4 separate regions of the Homo sapiens genome follow, and regions 2, 3 and 4 are each linked to region 1. The links are contacts of gene promoters, found by promoter capture Hi-C in human tissues and cell types (Jung and others, 2019). All regions are on one chromosome and are shown on one strand. Each heading gives the region's core, a stretch centred on a gene start or on the middle of the fragment in contact. The rest is flanking DNA. Distances are from core to core; before and after follow the strand shown. Region 1 holds the start of NCAM2 (neural cell adhesion molecule 2). Region 2 has its middle 48 kb from the start of LINC00317. Region 3 has its middle 85 kb from the start of LINC00317. Region 4 overlaps LINC01425 (long intergenic non-protein coding RNA 1425).

What was found. The method cuts DNA at HindIII sites, captures the fragments that hold promoters and counts their contacts. A contact is called where the count stands out against the background at its distance.
Region 2: a contact is called between a fragment that was not itself captured here and the fragment with the promoter of NCAM2 in region 1, in 1 of the 25 tissues and cell types used here (hippocampus).
Region 3: a contact is called between a fragment that was not itself captured here and the fragment with the promoter of NCAM2 in region 1, in 2 of the 25 tissues and cell types used here (dorsolateral prefrontal cortex and mesendoderm cells).
Region 4: a fragment that was not itself captured here is called in contact with the fragment with the promoter of NCAM2 in region 1 in 2 of the 25 tissues and cell types used here (dorsolateral prefrontal cortex and lymphoblastoid cells).

What each region holds. Positions count from the first base shown.
Region 1 is chr21:20,996,260-21,000,745 of GRCh38, reverse strand. It overlaps NCAM2 (neural cell adhesion molecule 2), which reads right to left and starts at 2,337. Exons shown (of 18, transcript NM_004540.5): 1 at 2,128-2,337. The coding sequence starts at 2,182. The HindIII fragment of the contact is 14,781 bases long and covers 1-4,486 here.
Region 2 is chr21:21,686,945-21,691,304 of GRCh38, reverse strand. No RefSeq gene overlaps it. Among named protein-coding and RNA genes, the nearest start is that of LINC00317, 48 kb to the left of the region's middle. The HindIII fragment of the contact is 3,820 bases long and covers 557-4,360 here.
Region 3 is chr21:21,650,632-21,654,803 of GRCh38, reverse strand. No RefSeq gene overlaps it. Among named protein-coding and RNA genes, the nearest start is that of LINC00317, 85 kb to the left of the region's middle. The HindIII fragment of the contact is 5,301 bases long and covers 1-4,172 here.
Region 4 is chr21:21,759,053-21,763,506 of GRCh38, reverse strand. The region is part of intron 2 of LINC01425 (long intergenic non-protein coding RNA 1425); the gene reads right to left. Among named protein-coding and RNA genes, the nearest start is that of LINC01425, 14 kb to the right of the region's middle. The HindIII fragment of the contact is 4,503 bases long and covers 592-4,454 here.

The DNA.
Region 1 (4,486 bases), core at 1,088-3,587:
TATGTTCCCTTTCACAAAAGCTACGTCTCTCTGATATATATCTGTGTCTCTATGAGTGCCACACATTGTGAAATTGTACTAGATAGAGAGATCTTTACAATGATGGTCTCCTTCTACCCTGTTTCATTACAGTGAATATGGGCTCCCCTTCAGAGATGCTTGTCTCAGAGTGCCTCTTCATAACCACCTCGTATCCTGACTTACAAATTAGCTGAATCACAATTTCACATCTATGTTACATGTACACATCCAAATTTTATGTCTCTGTGTACTATTTAAACCTATATATCTAAACATTTCTAATTTCCTATGTCTCCAAATTCCAACACACTTAGCCTCTACAATGATAAATTCAGATTCCACAACTGAGACATTTTTCTTCTCCAAACCACTCACAATGTAATCCTAAGTCTGCATAAACTTGTTTCCTATTATGCTCCCATTCTGCCCCACACTACCTACACTTATTTAATTGCAGTTGTATTTTAACTGCAATTTTCAGGGATTGTTTCTTGGTGCTCAAAAATACCTGTCTATGCTATAAATGAACAGTTAAACACAATCAGCAGCTATCTGAAAATTAAAGAAGCATATCTGTAGGACATATGTGCATGCTGATCTTTGCTTAAGAACCACTGAATTAACGAATTGGGCTAGTATTAGCTTCAGATGGACATATCTGCAATTTTGCTAAGACTGAAATATTTCATACTCTATGTTAGGAAGGGAAAATGAGCAGAATCTTATCAAGACACTTTACAAACTATAGGAATATCCAACATTTGCATACTGATTTCTGAACATTAAATCTGCATCCAATCGTGTTTCATCCGCCACTAACACTATAGCTGTGGGGAGGAGAAGGGCAGAAAAAGGAAGGCTTCACATCCAAAATGTCAAGCCCTGCTGAAGAATGATAGAAGGACTCTGTGGAAGAGCAGAAACCAACTTCTGGGCTTAAAATGGAGTTCTACCACCCCCTGCTGGACCAAACGAGCAATACAGAAGAGGCTAAAAATGCTTAGAACTGAATATCTTGGGGATATTTTAACTTGTCTTGTAATTTATTATATTATTTTAAAAAACCAATTTCACACTACACTAACAACATAACATTCTTTGCAATCATTACATATCTCAAAATTAGTGCTATTTTATTTTTCCTTTAAAGACTTTCACCAATGCATGTTTTAGCATTTTGTGTCCCTAATTAAACGTCCAAACTTGTCTGGACAGTTGAAAATGCTTCCATTTATTGTAAATATATTTCATGTGAGTGTTTACTATCTAAACAGCCAGATAAATTCATATCTATCTCTCTAGAGACAAACAGTGATAGCTTCCACAAATTCCCTCTCAGGTTATTCTACCAGGCTATTCATTTTTTTTTTTTAAGAGATAAAAGCTTCCACCAGTTCTCCCACAACCCCAAAAATCCTCTACAGGTGTAATTACAATGTAATGTTATAAAATGATTCCACCTTTCTGTATTAATAAGGGGTTGGGGTCAAAATGAATGACTGCAACACATCCCTAGTTTTATCCATTTGCTTTCTTACACACAATATCCACGGCCCCTCTCTTAGTTTCCAACAGAAATAAGCCATCATCATTCACTTCATAGTCAGGAATTAGGGTTTTGGGAAAGGGGTGGAAAAAAAAAAGAGTCTCCAAGAATCGAACGTCTTGCACACAGCAGATATTTTGCAAATGAGTTTAACACTGATAGTTTTTGCTGCTTCTGTAAAACACCATCGTGCCCTTTCCTTCCGCAACCTCAGATATTTCACTGTTAACACACTCATCCAATTTCTGATAATAAAAATAAGAGAAAGCCATAATCCCAGAGGAAAAAAAAAGAAGAAGAAGAAGCGGTTTCCCTGGATATCCTGCTCACCGATTCCCCTCTCCAATTCTGTATTTTCCCTTCTCTTATTTAAGGGTCTCCACACAACAGATACAATTTTAGGGACAGCTAGGAGAAAGAACGAAAATAATAATAACAACAACAGCAATAACTGTAACTTTAGTTCTTTCATTTCATTCTTCCTGCGCCTCCCTCTTTGCCTCTCTTGGCCGGGTGGAAGGGGGAGGGAAAGTAAATGCAATAAAGCGCCACACTCCTACCTTGCCCGCTACTGACAAGCAACCCCAGCAGGTAGAAGGAGAGGAGGAGGCTCATGTTCAGGACGTGACACCGGTGGACAGTTTCAAAGTTATTAAGTCCAGCCCTGGAGAGAGAACCTTTCGCTGCCCCGGCCGCCTCTGCTAGAGCCGCCGCCGCCGCTCCCGCGGTGCCCCAGCCGCCCGCAGCCCGCGCGCTCCTCCTCGCAAAGTGACTGCAAGCTCCGCTCTTGCCGCACTATATCCAGGCAGCGGCGGCGGCAGCGGCGGCAGAAGCAGCAGCAGCAGCGGCCGCCGCGGCGGCAGCAGAGCCGGGCGGGGAGGGCGGCGGGGGCGGGGGCGCGGCGAGGGGAGGTGCGGCCGAGGCGTATCCCTCCGCGCTGCACGGCGGCCGCTCTTCCGCGAGGCGCGCGGTCCCGGGATTCGTCCGCAGTGGAGCTCGAAGTCACGGGTTCGGTCCCCGGTGCCTCCGCCTAGAGGGGCGGCCGCGATCGCGAAGGCGCCACTCGCCCGCCGGCCATCCGCAGGTTCATGCACGCCCTGAGCCGAGAAGGGCGTGGGGATGGGGGCAGCCTGGAGCTCCTTCACAGCCGCCGGCTGCCTCAGGACAGCTGAGCTGATGCTGAGCTGAGCTGAGCTGAGCTGATGCTCATGCAGATGCTGATGCTGATGCTGATGCTGATACTGATACTGCAGGCGACCGCCCCGAGCGCGCCCCGGCTCAACGTGAATGGGGGATCTGGAGGCGGGCGGTGTGCCCCGCAGCTTATTCCTTTTGGGCGTGGGAGGAGGGAGATTCTTGTCTCTCCGTGGACCTCCTTCTCCCTCTCTCGCTCAAACCTGGAGCAGGCTGGCCCCTTGCGCGGCTGTCCCCTTCCCACGCTCCCCACCCCGCCGCGACAGAGGGGAAGCAATTGTACCCTAAAGTCTACACTGTCTGTCTCCTCAGGCGCTAAAGGGTGGGCGGAAAAATAACGTACAGAGTGTTTCCTCTACATCTCGACCCATTGCTGTTGGGAGCGGCACCTTACGGGAGAGACACTGGAGAGGGGACGAGCCGCGGGAGGGGCTGCGTTCAACTCAGCCTTAGCCTCAGCTGTGTCCTTAGAGGCCTGAAGTCTCTCCTGGCCTCACTCCGCGGGCTCTGCCCTCGGTCCCAGTGCGCTGCACTGGCCAGATCCCCGCCAGGAGTGCACCGAGGGAGGACTGCAAATGTGCAAAGATGAGTTGGGTCGCGGGGGGGAGACCTTCCCCAGATCAGTGCCCTACCCCGAACACCCACGTACCCGCGTGTGCGAGTGTAAATTGAAGTGAGGGAGCCGTGGCAAACGCCCGGAACTAACTCTCTGCTCCTTAAGATTGGGGCTTATCGTTATTTCTCCTAGAAGGGTAGGAAAACGTTTGTGAGATTAACGTCACCTCTCCTGCAAGAGCGGTTAAGAGGCAGAATCACCGGCCCGGGTGCGGAGCCCATGTCAATCTGGCCTGGGGTTACCGCGACCTGCAAACGCTGACGATGGGTCCTTTCATCTGCACTTTCTCTCTGGCTCCTTAGAAAACTCAACTGCCTCGCCCCGGCCTCCACAAGGACCCTAGCTCCTTCCTTATCAGTGAGGACATAGAAATAGCGGGGGTTGGAGAGGGGGGAGGTAGAAATGTAGAGCTCAGAATCCAGCCCCAGCCTGGGGATTTCACGCTGAAAAGGGCAGTGCATTGCCTTCAGGGAGGGCAGGGGGCAAGAGTAGACACAGGCTAACATGCATAGGGGAGATACCGTCTGCGATTTGTCCTCCCCAGGCAGAGCGCTTTATACAGATGATTCGTCCACTTGGCATCCTGGGATGGGGTTATCAGGAAGAGAGGAGGGGAAAGGCGGCCCTCAACTCACCATCGCTGAACTGCCTTAAGCAATGGCCCTCTCAGCACCTCACAGCTAGAGAACCTCTTATTTCCTCTTGATCTTATAGCAGACAATATATTTAGAAAGTTATTTTGCCACGGTACCCTTCTCACACCCTTTACTGGTTCTGGAATGCACTAACCACACTTAAGTAAACTCATGGTCAGCTCTTTGCAGGAAAGGGTGGAAGTAGCACATTTATAGATGTGAAAGACCGTGACTCATTTATTTACTCCAATTCTTCATTTCTCTTGGGCATTGATAAATGCTACACAGTAGGCCTTCTGCGTCCACAGTTCTACATCCTCAGATTCTACCAACCATGGATGAAAAATAACTTTAAAAAAAATGAAACAATGATACAATCAAAATAACGTAAATAAAAAAATACAGCAAAGTGACTATTTACAAAGCATTTGCATTATATAATGTATTACACCTAATCCAGAGATGATGTAATAT
Region 2 (4,360 bases), core at 1,217-3,716, 690 kb before region 1:
GTGTTCAAGGACAAAGTCACTATTCCAAAATTCGGGATAGTGAGCCAATAGATGGCTGATTTGTCATCTGCTCTACGAGAAATGACAAAAATACAAATGTAAAACTAAAACATGATTTTTTTTAGCAGCCCGCTTAAAGCAAACCATTTCAAAGGATTTTATTCAATAAATACATCCATTTTATGTCAATGAATATGTCCATACATTATAACCGATGCAAGTGAGTTAGAGAAAAACATTTGGGAGGAAAAATTAAGAAGAATATTTCTATATGATTCTTTCACTGGAGCGATACATTTGTAATATATTTTTGGTAAGATCACTTGTTATTTGATTAACAGATGTTTACAATGTCATTAAAGCAGTGACTGTAATTTCACCAGGGTCACACACACAAAAACTTTAAAAATGATGAAAACTTTGGAATTCTCACAAGCAAAGTGTATATATACAAGACATTTTCATGTTTTCCCAAATCTCTTGAATCTCATTCATGGAGCATTAATTGTTATTTTGGAGAATGTTTCTGTAAAAATAGTGAAAAAAGTAATAAATGTAAATTGATCTTATTAAAGATTTAGCTTTTCAAATCTGTCAGAGGAAAAGGTGCTTTATGATTTTTAACTGTCAATCACACCAAAGCATTAGGTAGGTTGTTCTACATATTAGTCATTGAATTTTATCTGTCAAAATGGAAAATACGTGGGTAGTCACTTGAAAGTTCAAGCAAATTTAAATGAATTAAAGGTTCAAATAAGTAATTACTGTCATTGAATAAAAGGTTACTTAGGACTAAATTTGACCACTCCATCTATTTTATAGTCTCCAGTCAAAGTTTAGGTGGCTGTATATCATTGCCACTGTTTTTAAAAAGCTGACATAGGCATTAGTATGATGACATTGAAACTAATTTTACAAGATATTTTGAATGTAACTAAGCATGCGACCTGTGGTCTAAAGATATCCTACTGCTCTTTAATTCTAAGGACAAATCTCTGACAGATTAAGTGCTGTAAATCTTTTACAGATGCTGTCATGAATGCCTTCAAAGGCCACTCAATTTCCCCACAGTTCTGCCAGGAAAGAAAGATCAACTATGGGTACATATACAAGGAAGGAAGCAAGATAATCATTTTTTTTCTAGGAATTGCAACGCTGATTGGAATTCCATAAAATGTTATTAAAATGCTCAAAAATGTAATTAATGACAGTTGAGAATCTCAGTACTAAGCTCTAAAGCTTTGACAGCAAAATATTAAAAATAAGAATAATAATATAAATGTAAAAAACAGAATAAGTACATTACATGATGTCTAAATAATGACATGTAATTAATAAAATAATAATAGTTTGTTGAGCATGTAGTATATGCTGAATATATTTTATTTATAAAGTTTATTTCATCTACAAAAGCTGTACAAGGTTGTGTTCCCATTTTTTTCTTAGGGCCCAAATCAAGTGCGGCAAAATTAAGAGATGAGAGTCAGGCAACTGCAAAGTATCAAGCTCCAGATTCAAAGTCAGGTCTTACTGGTCTCAAAAGTTACATCTTTTTTCAATGAATTGGAGATTTTGTAATCATCTAGATTATAATATCAATGACGTTAACTAGATAAATAACCTGGTTGGTATTTATATCAATTAACCTTTGCTACGTCACAATGTGCCCCGCAATTTCCCTCAAAAAATTAGTAGCACGTAACAAAACAACAAGATTTTCTTTGACTGTTACTTGGCTAGGTGGTTTGTTTGTTTGATCGGGGTTGGGTGGTCTTGGATGTTTTCCCTCCAGGGTCCAGCTGGAACTAAGACACTCAGGCACTTTCTCTGAGTGGTCTCTCATCTTTTAAAATATTATCCCCGACCTGTTCATACAATGACAAAAAAGCATCTCAGAGAGAAGAGTGGGGCAAGTCTCACTGGGTGAGCACTTTTCAAGGCGTGGGTTACTTCATCTCTTCTTCCATGAACCAAAACAAGTCACGTGGCAAATTCTTTCCACAATACAATGCTCTGATAGAAATGGACTCAATTCTATGACTATTAAACCAAATGCTTTAAAAAAAAATCAGTGTTAGCCTTACCAAAACAAACAAAACATTTTTTGAATGAACAGAAACTTCCACATATGTGGTAAGTTTTCATACTTAATTAAAACAGAAGCTTTGCTCCTCCCTACCACTCCCTGCCACACCTGCTCCGCTGCAGTCTTCTATGCATCCAGCTGATGGCGACGCGGCCCTTCCAATTCGTTTGGCCCAAACAAGCCTCTTTCTTGACTCTTCTTTTTCCTTTTTCACATATCTCTTTTCTTTTCCAATCCACCAGGAAATTCTGCGGCATTTACATTGCAAATATGCAGAAAATGGCCACTGCTCACCACCTCCATTACTAACATGTTGGTCCTCGACGCTGTCATCTCGTTTGTATTTCTGCAATGGCCTCCTAATTAATTTCCCTAAGTCCACTCTTACAAACCTACACTTAACCCGGTAGTTAGAGTGACTCTGTCAGATCATGTCAAAACCTAATACTGGCTCCATATTTCAGTCAGAGTATAAGCAAATTCCTCACAGTAGCCCACAGTTTCCTACATATATCTGCACACTCTACCATCCTCTTTCCCTCAGTACCTTTTCCTTGAATATCTCATTTCAGGCTTACCAACATCTCAGAGGTTTCGCAAACAGGGAAGGCACACTTCTGCTTTATGAACTTGCAAATATCCTCACAAATCAGTGTTTTTCCTCCTTTTATTTGTTGCTCAAATGACATCTTCCCAATGAGGCCTGTATTGATTCTGATCAATATCTTTATAATTATAAACCATGATACACATCCTTGACTCCCCAAACCTCTATTTCATCTAATGTTTCTATTTTTCATAATATTTATCACATATAAACACATCATATAATTTACTTATTTTGTGTTTGTTGTTCTACAAGAGAAGGAAAGAAACTTTTGTTGTGTTTAGTGGTTTATTTCAAGTACCTAAAAGGTGCTCAAGAAATTTTGAATGAATGAACGATCATAATAATACAGAGGATTAAGATATTTTGATATTTTAGCAGAAAATAACCATATTTGACTATTTAAATTGACCAAAATAACACTGAACAGCAACAAAAATTTACATATATATATGATATACATATTCTCAAGTAAAGGTTCAGTATAGTAAACCAAGCTCTCTCATTTGTGCTCATAAACTTTAATCCTGCCTTTATAGGAAATAATTGAGCATAATCAATATCTCTGATGAGCAATCCATGAGGAATATCATACTTATTTTTTTCTGAAATCCCTGCCATCATTAATATGGAGTCAGATGAAGTGAAGTTACAACTAAGTGTAATGATAAAGCATTTAATATTCCTAGACAAAAAATGAACTTGAACTAATTTTATTGTTCATAACTTTCATTTCCTAACCATTTGTAAGTGACACTTACCAGCACATTACTTGGTAATGACCCTTTACAATTAAAAACAAACACTTTAATTAGCATATTTAAACTTTTTTTCCAAAATATTAATTGCCTAATAATTATGTGGTAGATTTTGACTCCAAGGTACAGAAGGGATTACTACATTCATATTAATTCTATGATTAGTGGTTTGTTGAATATTTTTATAATAATGATCTTGAATTATTTTTAGGGAAATAAGGAATTAAAAATTATCCCTGAACTATTTATAATAAAAATGTTTTATTGAATGCATTAAATCATTTATGTTTTAAAAACTCTACATTTATCCACTCATTCATTTATTTTATTTTTTATATTAAATGTGTAGATAACATACATTCATTTTATGTTCACTTAGCATTTGCCTGGGAAGCCTCAGAATAAAAAGGAGTTATTAAGCAAACTGCTACAATCATGTATGCATTTGGGTTAAAAAATGTGTTACAATGATGCTATCATAAAGAGAAAAATAAGTAGTTGTAGTCTTTTACCAATATGCTATGTAGAACCAAATAACACTGAAAATGGAGAATTTATCTGCATCTTCATTATCTTTCTCTTACACATCCCATTTCTTGTATCTCAACCTAGAATATGACTATTTTCTAGTTATACTCTATGTAGATTAAACATGCTAGCTAAGTTACTACTTCAGACTCTTTTCTCTGGTCTGTTTAAGGAGCCATCTCTAGCAGCATTCTTCTATTCTCTCCTACCCCTCACCAGATACAGACGGTGATCTTAAAACATAGATCCAAATTCATGTGTATATCAAAACATCATTGTGTACACCTTAAATATATGGAATAAAAATAAATTTAAAGATAACATTTTTAAAAAGAAATCTTTATATTTTCAAGTTATTCCCAGACATTGGAGTCTGTCTGT
Region 3 (4,172 bases), core at 1,236-3,735, 650 kb before region 1:
GATGAATCTTCGAGAAAAATATCAAAAAGCCCTGCTTCAAATCAGTAAATATTTGGTGGTAGGTGAGTGGTGTTTTCAAATAATAAATACAATCATTCACTCTCTGTTATGACTTTTTGAAGATAATTCATTTTTGTTTTTCTTCTCTTAAGGGCTGATTTAAACTTTCACAAATGTAACATCATATTGAATCACATCACATTGAATTTGTAATGAAAAAATGTGTTCCCCAGACGTCTTATGACCTCTGAAACTTGGAAACCAAGTTGGCAACTGAGGAAAAAACTATTATTTCCATCAAAAACTATGGCAACAAAAACATGGTCATGTTCATTTTAATTACTTCTGCCATTTTACTTGTCCCTCTTTCTAGTTATCTTTCTTAAGAATATTAATCAGTCTAAAGAGAATAAATGATTTATTATTTTCAGAGAGGTAGGTGTTTTGAACAGATCTTAGAGCCATGTGGGTCAGTGTTGTCAATCCCAGATTTATCTGTTTAAAATGCATGCCTCATGGACTTACACTTATTAATGTTATAATGTAGGTAAGAATCTTACCCAGTGCTCAGTACATACTAAGTTGTGGGTAAAACCTGCTTATTACTAATTATTCAACAATTCACAGAAAAATGGAAAATTCAGTTGTTCAAATTATCACCAATATGGGTGTTTTCTTTATAATGTGATAAGATTATTTGAATTTTATGACACATATGCCATGAATTTAAGATAAGTATAATATGGTTGCTTTAAGTTTTTCTTTTTCAATTACAATAATAATAATACAAACCTCCTTAGATCTATACACTTGAGATATTTAAAACACAATGTGTATGCAAAACATCATAACCTGGTTCCTCAAATCAACAAGGGACTATGAGTTTTATTTGTATGAGAGGTCTTGGACCTGTGGTATTTTGTTTACTACTTATCACTTTTGATGGCCACCCATTTGAATAGAGATCTAATCTGGCTCTGGGGGCAGGGAAGATCTTGGGACAGGAAAACTACCCCTTTCTTTAGGAGATGGCCCATTGATCTTTGCTTTTATCAGCTCCTGCAACTATCATTTGAAGGTAAAGATCAAGTTATTTACAAATTGCTTTAGATTGAAAGGCATTAGACTAGGCAAGGTGAAAATTAAGAGCTTGTGAATACATTGTAGGTGGAAATAATTTTTGGAAACGATTTCCCAGTATATATAATACACAATTTCTAAAATGAACAAAAGTTTGAAATAAGTTTTAAATAAGATGTTGAAAAGATGTAAGCGTAGCTGCTTTAATCTTAATCAATGCAACTTGTGATGAGGTAATGAAGAGCAGGCAATCAGTCAGAACCCAATCTACCCAAATGAAATCTCAAACAACAGAGGATATTTTTTACTTTAGTTTGTGTTAAGAGAGATGGGCAATGTAAGTGCTATGCAGATTTAATGTGCTAATGAAATAAATTCATCAAGATTTAAATTATGGAGGAAATTAAAATAAGAAACTGTTCTGTACACAAAAGAGACTATGTCCCAAGAGAATATCCAGCCTTGGTAAAGAACAACCCTAATGAATTTTAGAATAGATTTACAAAATATTATATATCACCTGTTTTTAAAGACTTTTTATTCTTTAGTTTCCTTAGTCAGTCCCTAGAATTTTTATTTAGGAAAGACCCTAGAAATAGAAATCTGAAATGCTCAGCCAACAAAAGCTTTGTGAAGTTGTTTGCCCAGCCAATGTATTGTTGGTGGTTAGATCATTAGTCTACTACTTCGATTTTGGGTGCTCAGTGAAGTACCTGGAGGCATTCAAGGGTGTGAGCACAGATAATTTAAGGGAATTAATTTCTAATTTAAATAATTTCATCTTTTATGTTAAATATTTCCTAAGGCCATTTGATGGAGCTTCAAGTTCTAATTTTCTTTTTTTTTTCTTTTGAGATGGAGTGTTGCTCTGTCGCCCAGGCTGGAGTGCAGTGGCATGATCTCGGCTCACTGCAAGCTCCGCCTCCCAGGTTCATGCCATTCTCCTGCCTCAGCCTCTCAAGTAGCTGGGACTACAGGCACCCGCCACCACGCCTGGCTAATTTTTTTTGTATTTTTTAGTAAAGACGGGGTTTCACCATGTTAGCCAGGATGGTCTCGATCTCCTGATCTCGTGATCTGCCCTTCCTCAGCCTCCCAAAGTGCTGGGATCACAGGCGTGAGCCACCATGCCCAGCCCAAGTTCTAATTTTCTGCCATGTTATAATAAACCTCTCCCAATTTTTCAAAGTAAAATATCTGTTGCCCAGCACTAAACTAGCAGGGTGATTGCCCCAGAAAATTACAAAGATCCTAGGCATCACTACTGAGACCAATCAAAATGTTTTTATAATGATTTTGAAAAAATAAAGAATTTTAATGACAGGATAAAAAATAAATACATTTGAAAATCAAATGATTCCAACTATCAGTTTTCAACAAAACTAAAGAATTTACCTACTTGGATTGTTTGTTGATAGGCCACTTAAAAATAATATTTGCTGAAGAATTAGAATGAGACATTTACAAACACCTGAAAAGAGTTGAAAGAATTCAATGTCATTGCTAGAATAGCACACTTATCCTCATCTATTTGTTTATGTGGACAAGTTATTTCAATACCTACATCTATAAAGATGAGTGTATTAGTTCATTTTCATATTGCTGTTACAGACATGCCCGAGACTGGACAATTTACAAAAGAAAGAAGTTTATCAGACTTACAGTTCTATGTGGCTGAGGAAACCTCACAAACATGGCGGAAGTTGAAAGGCACATCTCACATGGTGGTAGACAAGAGAAGAGAACTTGTGTAGGGAAACTCTGATTTTTAAAACCATCAGATCTGGCGAGACTCATTCACTATCAAGAGAACAGTGCAGGAAAGACCCGCCCCCATAATTCAATCACCTCTCACCAGGTTCCTCCCATGACATGTGGGAAGTACAATTCAAGATGAGATTTGCTTGGGGGCACAGCCAAACCATATTATTCCACCACTGGCCTCTTCTAAATCTCATGTCCTCATATTTCAAAAACCAATCATGCCTTCCCAATAGTCCTCCATAGTCTTAACTCATTTCAGCATTAACTCAAAAGTCTACAGTACAAGGTCTCTTCTGAGACAAGTCAAGTCCCTTCTGCCTATAAGCATGTAAAATCAAAAGCAAGTTAGTTACATCCTAGATACAATGTGGGTACAGGCACTGGGTAAATACAGCCATTCCAAATGGGAGAAATTGGCCAAAACAAAGGGGCTACAACCCCATGTAAGTCTGAAATCCAGCAGAGCAGTCAAATCTTGAAGCTCCAAAATGATATTTTGACTCAATGTCTTACATCTCAGTCATGCTGATGCAAAAGATTGCTTCCTGTGGTCTTAGGCAGCCTCGCTCCTGGCTGTTTCCATGGGCTTGTGTTGAGTGTCTGTGGCTTTTCCAGGCTCACAGTGCAAGCTGTCAGTGAATCTACAATTCTGGGTTCTGTAGAATGATGTCCCTCTTCTCACAGCTCCACTAGGTAGTGCCCCAGTAGGGACTCTCTGTGGGGACTCCAAACCCACATTTCCCTTCCATGCTGCCCTAGCAGAGGTTGTATATGAGAGCCCTGCCCCTGAAGCAAACTTCTGCCTGGGCATCCACTCGTTTCCATACATCCTCTGAAATGTAGGCGGAGGTTCCCAAACCCCAATTCGTCACTTCTGTGTACCAGCAGGGTCAACACCATATAGAAGCTGCCAAGGCTTGGGGCTTGAATCCTCTGAAACCATAGCCCAAGCTCTAGGTGTACCCCTTTCAGCCATGGCTGGAGTAGCTGGGATGTAGGGCACCAAGTCCTGCGCATAGCACTGGGACCCTGGGCCCGACCCACATAACCACTTTTTCCTCCTAGACCTCCAGGCCTGTGATGGGAGGGGCTTGTGAAGAGCTTTGAAATGCTTTGGAGACATTTTCCCTGTTGTCTTTGGGATTAACATTTGGCTCCTAGTTACTTAGGCAAATTTCTGCAGCTGGCTTGAATTTCTCCTTAGGAAATGGGATTTTCTTTTCTAACGCATTGTCTGGCTGCATATTTTCTAAACTTTTATGCTGTGCTTCCCTTTTAAAACTGAATAGCTTCAACAGCACCCAAGTCACCTCTTGAGTGCTTTACTG
Region 4 (4,454 bases), core at 1,594-4,093, 760 kb before region 1:
TGATCTTGATATGTCCTACATCTCATTGACAAGACATGAAACTCTGAGGAAAAGACCGTCTAGGTAAATAAATAAACAAGGACGGTGCCTTGATTGGAATGAGTTTGATTTGACAAAGGAAAAAGAATTACCAGCCTCATGTTTACATTACAGAAAGAGTTTTCTAGCTATATTTATCCTTGCCATCCTACATTCAGTTCTCCAGACAGCAGCATTTGTTGAAAAACATCATCAGATGCTTTGCTTGGCTAGTGAAAGGACTTCAGTAACTTCTTTTGAAATATAAAATAAATTCCAAATGATTTACTATAGCCTGCAAAGCCAACTCATGCTCAATCTTGTCTTTCTGACATCATCTTCCATTAGTACTTTTCTCATTCAACAAGCTCCAACAATATTGATTTCATGGTAAAGGGCAGAACATTAACACACACATGCTTTATCGGTTTGCAACTGATGACAGTTTGAAGACTAAGATGCATTGGTGAAGGTGACAAGATGTATCCTTGACTTGGAATGTAATCATACTTGATATTCTTCAGAGTGTTGTAACTGAGAAAGAAAAAGCAAGGATGTGCCCAAGGTTTTGGTCTGAGAAATTAAGTAAGAAGAAGAATGTGACTGGGTGTAACATGGGCAAAGCTGAATTTATTATTGCTCAACCCCTCCCAGTCTGGCCCTTTGCTCTATTACCTGGCAAGTCATTCATTTGAAGTTTTTCAGACTCTATTACCTTCACTCTTCACATTTAATTAATAGTCAGATCCACTTGATTATAAGTTTTAATATTTTTGTGTCAGATCTCTACCAGGCATCTATTAACTGGGTTAGGGATAGGGTTAGGGTTCGGGTTCGGGTTCGGTTAGAGTATGTATGATATATATACTTGGTGATGATATTTCATCACTGTCTCTAGAAATATTCCTAAAATGCAAATCCAACTATCTCTTGCTCTGCAGAAAGTCCTTTATGATTTTGTATTACCTTCAAAATCAAATCTAACCTTAGTAGAAAGGGGATAGATAGATAGATAGATAGATAGATAGATAGATAGATAGATAACCTCCATCATAAGGTTTCTGCTTCTACCACCAATGTCATCTTTTACTGTGTCCTATTTAGGACTTCCAGCTTTAGCTATTCTTAAATAATTGCAACCTCCAAAAATAAATGTTTCATAATCTATTCCTTTTTCCCCCCTTGAATGTCTCCTTCCACCATTGGACAACTGTTAACATTTAAAGACTCATTTCAAGGGTATTATTCTAGTAAATTCCATTTATAAAAAATTTTTTAAAAGATCACAGAAAGCACAATATATTAGTCGCTGATTGTATGATTCATTGCTGTGTGCTAAAAGAAAATCAGAAAACTTACTGACCTGAAAGAACAACAATTATTTTGTTTCTGTATCTATTCCTCGGGCAGGGCTTATGAAGGGTTTAGTAGGGAGCTTGCCTTTGATTCAAGAGGTCAGTTTAAAGCAATTGATCTCAGAACTGGAGAACATACTACCAAAATGGTTGACTCACATAGGTGGTGATTTGGTACTAGCTATCAGTTGGGATCTCAGCTATACTGTCAGTCAAAATTCATGCATACATCCTTTCCACGGAGTCTCACTGCTTTGCCTGTTTGAACATTCTCACAGCGTGGTGGCTCTTTTTCTACAGCAAACATCTCAAAAGATCACAGTGGATGATGATGGCATTTTTATGTAATATATTGAAGCAGTCACAAAAAGCCAGTGAGTTTCAAAGGGAGAGGGCAAAGACCCTATCACAGGATGCACTGTAGAAAGAACTTATGGAATGGAGATACTGTTGTGATCTTCACTGAAAAATGCAATACACCACAAAAATTTTGATTACATACCCCACACTCCAAAGTATATCACCCCACCCTTATAAATTCTGGCTCCCATTCTAAAGCAATCAATCGCTTGTTAGACAGAATGGATTTGACTGACTACTTAATCACACGGCAAATAATAACTTTCTCATTTGTTTCCTCATTTATGGCTGATATGAAATGGCATGGTGGGAAGAGGCTCAGCTTATTCCTGGTATAAATCACATACAGTGTAATGACCATCAGGCATGAAATATTTCAGCATTTTACCTTTATACAAAGAAAACTCATATTCTACGTTATTAAAAACTATTCCCATCCCTGTTTACTCAAATAACTATACCTGTTAAGATTCTCTTGCTTAGCAGAGTCCCAGTCAACTAACTCCAACTTACTTATAACAGTCCTCAACATATGTAATGTAACTCAGACACTAAAAGGGAGTAATGTGCTCTTCCAACTTCAGGGAAACATGATTGATAGTAGCTTCTCTATTCTAATACAACTAATCATCTTCCAGAAACGTCTATACTATACTATAGTTACATAGCCTGAATTCAAATTTTTATGAAACAAGAGGTGCTTAGGTATTATCCTCTTTCAAAGCCCATTCTGTAGACTGTAAGTACCCGTGAATTGAATTGAATGCTTTGGTGTGATCATGGAGGGGAAGTCTAGTTCATGTAGTATAAAGCTTAATCACTAAGGCAGATGGAGCAATAGCTGTGAAGTGGTGGGATGAAGCATGAATAGGCAGACTTTGCTACAGTGCATATGGAGGGCAGGAATAAAGGTTAACATACCCAGAATAACATAACAAAACTTGCATTTTCAATATCTGGTTTCTTATTACATTGCACCTCTTTTCCTTCAAGGTGCATGTGTGATTCATACTCTAAGCACTATGGGTAATACAAGGTAATCCTCCACTAATGCCATATGCCCTAATAAATGACAGCATAAAGAAACCAATTGGTTATATTATTTATTATGGTCTTTATGGCACTGGGAGATTATTGTAAACAGGGTTCATGTCAGGTCTTATATACAATAACATGAAACCACACTATATATGAGGAAAAGTCAGACAATTTCCAAACACTGAGTCAGGCACTTTCTACACAATGAATAATAAATGATACGTGCAGCAATTTGCTTTAGTATTTAGTTAACCAATTATTTAAATCTATCATATTCAATATATTATCAGGAGATATACGTGCTCTAACCTACTGTAGGATAGTATTTCAAGATTAGTACCTAATCAAGAACCAGACATGATACCTCTTACTTAGTGCATACTTCTGAATGGAGGACATGAATTCTCCCATATCGAGAAAGCACTAAGACACTAAAGTAGAAACTCAAAATATGAGTGACAAGTTTTGCAAATATTCTGTTTGATTCAGGTACATACTCCACTTTAAAGACATTAAGCAAATTAGAGGATTGTTTTAGTTCATATATGAAGATGGGCACAGAAGAGTAAGAGAAACAGGATGGGAGAAGCTTACCAAGACACAGTGATCTGGATAAGTTAGGAGCATTAATTTTGTGTAGCCAGGTACCGAGAGAGTACATACATAACAGCAAAAATACAAAGCCATAACAACAAATAACTTCCTGACAAAATCATGCACAAATCAGCACGTATTTTTTTAATTAAATAGGCTTCCCTAAGTGGAACAAAACAGAGCCATTGGATAAATATCATAACAACAGAGAAATGATCCACATTTTCATGTTTCATATAAATATTGGAATTCTGTCCCAAATCAGGATTTACACAATTGGGTGATGGATGTGAGACGGAAATCCTGACTCACAGCATAATAATTGTAAATACAGCATAAAAGATGCATTTCTACAGGAGAACATGAACAGCTTTAGCTTGTTGGTTATAGTTTTGCAGATCTAATAGTTAACAAGACAGCATTTCTACTGATGCATAGGTTCCACTGACAAGCTCCAGGATCATCTCATTCTAGTCATAATCATTGTCTGTCTTGAAGCCTGGTAGGGCATTGGTCATCTTCTTCTGTGGACATTTTCTCACTATGAAGTGACACATTATGTTATAGGGAATATAGCACATGTACCCTTGGCTGCCAGGTATGCATATGAGTGTGGCCATTCTACCAAAATTTTCTTTTCTGCAAAGCCTTGCAGAGGTGGAAATACTTGCCCTCCTACAGAGAGCTTGAGATTGAGCCATTAAACTTAATGTAGCAAAAAAGCAATGTTTGAGATCATTATATAGCTTGTTTTGGATTTACATATTCTTAATGCAAATTTGTGATAGTCAAAATTTCAACATAGAAATATCTATTCACCATAACAGTAAAGTTCCCATTTCAGTGCTTTCAGATATTGAAAAATATATATTTAAAGTTATGCACACATTCACATATACATGAATACATATATATGTAAAATCAAGCCAAGCAACCAAGCTGTACATATATTAAGGAAAATATCTAGTTCGAAATAAAATAATGTAAATATGACTATGAAAGGAAAAGAGTTATCTGTGTTGTTTGCTGTTGGAATTCCCCCGGATTACTAATCCTTGTTAAGTTTAAGTTTCTTTTTAATAAAATGTT